Regions from separate parts of the Homo sapiens genome. Here region 2 is linked to region 1. The links are contacts of gene promoters, found by promoter capture Hi-C in blood cells and fetal thymus (Javierre and others, 2016). All regions are on one chromosome and are shown on one strand. Each heading gives the region's core, a stretch centred on a gene start or on the middle of the fragment in contact. The rest is flanking DNA. Distances are from core to core; before and after follow the strand shown. Region 1 holds the start of ZNF805 (zinc finger protein 805). Region 2 overlaps ZNF155 (zinc finger protein 155).

Region 1 (2,967 bases), core at 249-2,748:
GCCACAATGCTCAGCTAATTAAAAATTTTTTTTGAGTAGGCTGGATGCTGTGGCTCATGCCTGTAATCCCAGCACTTTGGGAGGCCAAGGTGAGTGGATCACTTGAGCACAGGAGTTCAAGACCAGCCTGGGCAGCATGGTGAAACTGACTACAAAAACTACAAAACAAAACAAAAAAACCCTCAATTTGCTGGGCGTGGTGGTGCGTGCCTGCAGTCCCAGCTACTTGGGTGGCTGAGGTGGGAGGATCACTTGAACCCTGGAGTTTGAGGCTGCAGTGAGCTGTGATCGCGCCACTGCACTATGGCCTGAGCAACAGAGCGAGACCCTGTCTCAAAAAATATATATATAAATATATATATAAATATATATGTGCATATATATACGTATATATACATATGTATATATACGTATATATGTATATATGTATATATAAATATATGTATATATAAGTAGAGAGAGAGAGAGAGAGAGAGACGGAGTCTCACTCTGTCGCCCAGGCTGGAGTGCAGTGGCGCGATCTCGGCTCACTGCAAGTTCCGCCTCCCGGGTTCACATCATTCTCCTGCCTCAGCCTCCCGAGTAGCTGGGACTACAGGCGCCAGCCACCACGCCCGGCTAATTTTTTGCATTTTTAGTAAAGACGGGGTTTCATCGTGTTAGCCAGGATGGTCTCGATCTCCTGATCTCGTGATCTACCCGCCTCGGCCTCCCAAAGTGCTGGGATTACAGGCGTGAGCCACCGCGCTCTATTTTTTTTCTTTTCTTTTTCTTTTTTTTTTTTTTTTGGTACCAATGAGGTCTCGCTCTGTCGCCCAGACTGTTCTCAAACTCCTGTCCTCAAGCGATCCTCCTGCCACAGACTTCTGGGACCACAGGTGTGCGCCAGCACACTCAGCTTATTTTAAAAAAATTTTTTTTTTTTTTGGTAGTCTCCCTATGTTGCTCAAGCTGGTCTTGAGCTCCTGGGCTCAAGCGATCCGCCCCCCTTGGCCTCCCAATGCGCTGGGATCCCAGGCCTGAGGCATCGCGCCGCCCGACGTCCCCCTTTGGTTACTCTGACTGCCCGCTGATCTGTATAAGAGGATCCGGAGGGGAAATAATGCAAGGTGGAAGTCAGAGTCCGGAGCCTGGTCCAGGGTCTCTGCACTGGCCCTGACCCTGGCAAATGTCCCTGACTCCTGGGGCTCGATTTCCTCCGGCCAAGAATGGACGGTCTCGCGCTTGGTCCCTGGCCTCCGAGTTGTGCCCCCAGGACAGAGGCAGGTCTGAGCCGGGCTGTAGGCCCGCTGCGACTTTTACACCGAGGCCTGCCGGCTCAGGATCTGTCCCCTTTGCAGGTGGTTTGTAGAGAAAAACTACATTAACTACAAGGCATTGCCAGGTGCGACGGCGGGCCCTGGGGCCAATGATGGTCCAGGACAGGGGCGTTTCCTGTGGGTTGCGAAGCTTGGGGCGGGACTTCCGGCATTTGGATGGGACGTAATTTGGGAGCGACGGTTCCGTCCACGCCGGCTCTAGGGAGGGGGCGGTGTTCCGTGGCCGCCTCCCTGGCGGCGCTGGGGAAATGAGCAGGTAGGAGGCCGACAGCGACCTCCGCGTCTCGGAGCGAACCGTGAGCCTCCCCGTAACGAGAGAGTTTGACTGTCAGCCAAGGTCACCGGGCCCGGCGCAGGGAAGGGGTGGGGCTCGGCTGAGCCCGCGAGACCCGCCCTGCTCGCCGCAGCCCCCGCCCCGCTAGGGCCACAGGGTCCCGGTATGGCGATGGCTTTGACGGACCCGGCGCAGGTGAGTGGACAAGGTTTCGGCCTTGCTGCTTTTCTGCTAGTTCGGGGAAGCCTCCTGGGCAGGCCGGAAGCCAAGACAGCCACAGGATTCCTCTTTGTAGTTTTGTTTGTTTACGAAACGTGGAGCAGGCTCGTCACTTAGTTTATCTCCTGTCGTGGTAGTACCTGAGAGACTGAATATTGAAGCGGACAGTAGGCAGACTATACATCGATTATAGGGCTGTGACGTACAATTTTTTTGTAGCAACCTGCCCAGGAAACCAGCCTCCTGTTCTGCAATAAACTACTCTGGAAGCCAGTCTGCCTTAAGTTAGTCTTGCAAGGAGCTAGATTACTCTCTGGTGACATTTCAGGAGGCTAAACGGTAACTCCTGGAACAGTAGGCCCCAAATAGGACTTGATTTGTAACTGACTGTTCTAATTTTTGCCTCCGCCTCCAAAAGAGGACCAAGCAGAGAAAGCCATACGTGCTCAGCCTAACCAATCACATACGATGCCCCACTTCTAGTTAGCCCTTCTGCAGCTTTCCACTGCTAAAGTGTCAGGCCTCTGAAAGCTGCTTAATAATTGCTTGAAGGATGGATGAAGTTCCACTCCAGGGACTCCCGTCACACACATCATCCGAACTCAGCCTTGGCCTGCAAGTCCCTACCCGGTCCACTATGGCTGACCACCTCTGTCCTTGTTTCCTTCCTTTCCTCCCTGGCTCAGCGCTTCAGACACAGGTCCACTATGGCTGACCACCTCTGTCCTTGTTTCCTTCCTTTCCTCCCTGGCTCAGCCCTTCAGACATATCAATCTGATCACGCAGAGTTCTTTCCTACCCCTCAGCCTTCACCTTTACAGTTCATTCAGCCTCAGACACTATCCTCAGATCTCTGCAAGACCCTTTCACATCTTGTTGGCTCTGCTCAAATGTCACTTCTTTAAAGCGGCCTTTCATGGCAGTTCAGACTAAAGTAGTCCCCTTCTCACCTGCCCTTGGTCTAGCGTTTTTGTATAGAGAATCTGGCAAAGTTTTAGACACCTACTGAGTTGAGGTCTTAAAGGATTTTGTGGGGACAAAGAGCATAAATAATAACACAAGAACTGTAACGGTTGGCCTTCATTGAGTCCTTGATGTGAACTGAGAAATGGGCATTATTTATCATCTCATTTAATCCTGATCTCCTTAAAGTGA
Region 2 (2,967 bases), core at 300-2,799, about 13 Mb before region 1:
CTGTTTGTGCCAGGTGCTTCCTTTATCTCTTTTGTGTTGACTGCATTTGGTTTTTGGTTTTGCTTTGTTTTGTTTTGTTACCATTATTTATTTTATGGAGTATGAAAATTAGTAGAAATGAACAGTGCTCCCACTTCCTTACCTCCCCTCTCTCAAATTATCTGTTTTTATCTTCTCTGCTGTTCGTCATGTACATTTGTAACTGTATTTGTATTGATGATATACATCTAATTGTAAACTGTGCTCTTTTTATATGTTATATAATCTTCCATTTTTATGGTTACATCATATTCCTATTACATTGATGTATCTTTTTATTTATAACTACCTCACGCTCATAGACATATTTTAAGCAACACTGCAGTGACAGCTTTCCTATACATAACCTTTTCCCACAAAATTAATTTTGAAAACCATATGCCATTTTAGCTCAATTTTGAAAGGGTACTTTTGATATGTACCACATTGGCTGTTTTGCAGATAGAATATTTTAACTAGGCACAGAACAAAAGGATGTAACTGCTGCACCACACAAATATTGTTGGAGTTTTCACACTGGAAGAGCTAGATTCTGTGTTCTCCTTGTCTCAGTCATACTTTGCATGTGCTTTATTTACTGGTCTCTTCTTATTCATTTATGTAGTAAGCAGTTTAACCAAAGCAGTAGAAAGCCTTCATTTAAAATGTCCAGTGATACTAAGTTTTGCCAATCACTTGTGTTCTGTTACTACATTTACTCCTCAGCGCAGCGGAATGAGGTTCCTGGTCTCTTCTTCTTCTTGAACAGGTGAAATATGAGAAACCTTCTCAGGTGTACACAGGCAACCAAAGGTCAGGAGTGTTAGCCATTCGGCTCAGGTGAAAAAGAGAAACAAGGAGAGAGACAGAATTCTCCATTGAGCAACCTGTGCCCTGTGATGTGGATGTCTGGAGTGCCCTGTGGAGTGATGGTGTCCCTAGTGGTGCTGCTCCTCCCTGTCCCTACTTGGTGTGACTTCTTGTCACATGTCACTATGACATGGCATCTACTCCAGGCACTGAAGTATACTGATTACCATAGTTGTTATAGAAAATCTTTAAATCCCTTTTGGCAAAAGATGCCTCACACAATGTTACCAGAAGAAATAATGACCTGGGGCAGAAATGTTAGCCACGTGGATACCTAAAGAAAATAAAATTCAAAATCAAAACCTTGAGCACAGAATAAAGGAAAAACTCCAAACAGATAGGAACAAAGGACACTAAAAGGCCAATGTAAAAGGAGAAGTAGAGATGGCCAATAACCTTGAAAAGTGATGGTTTTCATTTGTAATCAAATAAGTGAGAATAATAGAATGATTTGTTCCCCAAATCAGATTACCAAGACTGTGGGAATACTTATAACCTGCTCTTGGTCATGATAAAGAGAAGCAAAGTACTTGTATTCTGTTCAAAGATTATGGAGGTAGGTAAAAAACTGGGAAGAAAGCATGCAGTTATATGATCACAGTTCTAAATGTGCTTATTTTTTGATGTTTTAATTTTCATTTGAAATTATTATTTTAAACAATGAGAGAGTAAGATGTTCTTACATCTTGCTACATCATTACTTAATGATGCTCTTTACAGGATTGATAATGGAAAATATGTAAAATTAAATATTCTTTACTGTAGCTAAAAGTAGGTCATCAGATCTCTGGAATACTATGCAGCCATGAAATAGATAATGCTAGTAACAACAGTAAAAAAGATTCCAGCTAATGTTCATTAAACAGTGGCACAGATGTTTCCAAATGCTATGTATTTCCTTGTTTAATCCTTTAAAATACTGTGCCAAATAAGGACTATTATTTAGAGAGGAAAGTAAATCCTGTAGGCAAACATGTCTAAGGCCACACAGTTAGGAAGGGGCAGACCCTTAGGATGTACAGTGATGCATTCTGGCTTCTGATCAGGACACTGAAGGCTGCAATTAACATTTGTGGTTTGTACCTTGAGAGTAGAGGACACACTACATAACTGTCCCACTCAGCTGTCCACACTGGTACTGTGGAGTAGGTTCACTGTGCACTGATTACCAACTTGTGTGAGTCCTGTGAGACAGAACACGATCTCACTCAACAGATTACGTGAAGCAGATTTGTTATCTACAAATTGGCAGCAAGGGAGCACAGGAGTGTAGGATACACTGTGAGGTGGCCATCCAAGGCTGAAGAAAACGTCCTGGGGTGGGTAGAATCTTGACCCCATTTCCACCAGAGCAGAGGTACCCCAGAAGGCAGCCCACCCGAGGTTATATACCTCCGGGGCAATACGACTTACTGGGCACTTTCTCCCTAACTCAAGACATTATCTTCCCTAGGAAGGACAGGAACATTGCATTGCTAGCATGTTCTATGTTTATTCTTCAAAACTATACACAAGAAAGAATGATTCAAGGCCACCCTGAAAATTACCCACAGTTACCTAAAACTTGTTAGTTTAGCAAATACTAAAGAAAAGCAATAGCATCCAGGGTTTGAGTACGAGAGAGGAGGACCCAACAAAGTTGGGACTGAATTGTTTAATGTTGCTGGGGCAGTTGGCAAGATGTGTCGAACCTATATATGGGTAGCTCAGGATGCAGCATGTAGAGTCCTAGAGGGTTACATACAAGTAGACTCAATGAGTGCACAGAATAAATGTATGAGACTTCATCATTGCACTTCTGGTGGAGTTCAGGAAAATCAGTATGTGTCATTGTCAGGATATAGACAGAATGAGTGGGAAATCTCTAAGTTGACCTACATCCCTCAATACTGAGAACAACTTTCCACTCATCCCCTTCCCCTGCTCAATGCCGCTTCTCCCCCAGTAGTCCTTGGTCATAAGATTGAAGTTATGTCTTCTTGATGTTGTAGGAGGCAGTGACCTTCAAGGATGTGGCTGTGGTCTTCACTGAGGAGGAGCTGGGGCTGCTGGACCCTGCCCAGAGGAAGCTGTACCGAG

Evidence for each region. Contacts are between HindIII fragments. The CHiCAGO score rates a contact against its expected background, and 5 or more counts as called.
Region 2: a fragment that was not itself captured here is called in contact with the fragment with the promoter of ZNF805 in region 1 in 1 of 17 cell types (non-activated CD4 T cells); the score reaches 8.8 in non-activated CD4 T cells.

The regions. Positions count from the first base shown.
Region 1 is chr19:57,239,134-57,242,100 of GRCh38, forward strand. ZNF805 (zinc finger protein 805) reads left to right here and starts at 1,499. Exons shown (of 4, transcript NM_001023563.4): 1 at 1,499-1,788. The coding sequence starts at 1,759. RefSeq lists enhancers at 1,097-1,316, 1,337-1,606 and a silencer at 1,727-1,796. The HindIII fragment of the contact is 2,977 bases long and covers 1,448-2,967 here.
Region 2 is chr19:43,988,669-43,991,635 of GRCh38, forward strand. ZNF155 (zinc finger protein 155) reads left to right here. Exons shown (of 5, transcript NM_198089.3): 3 at 2,880-2,967. Among named protein-coding and RNA genes, the nearest start is that of ZNF155, 6.0 kb to the left of the region's middle. The HindIII fragment of the contact is 3,880 bases long and covers 1-2,967 here.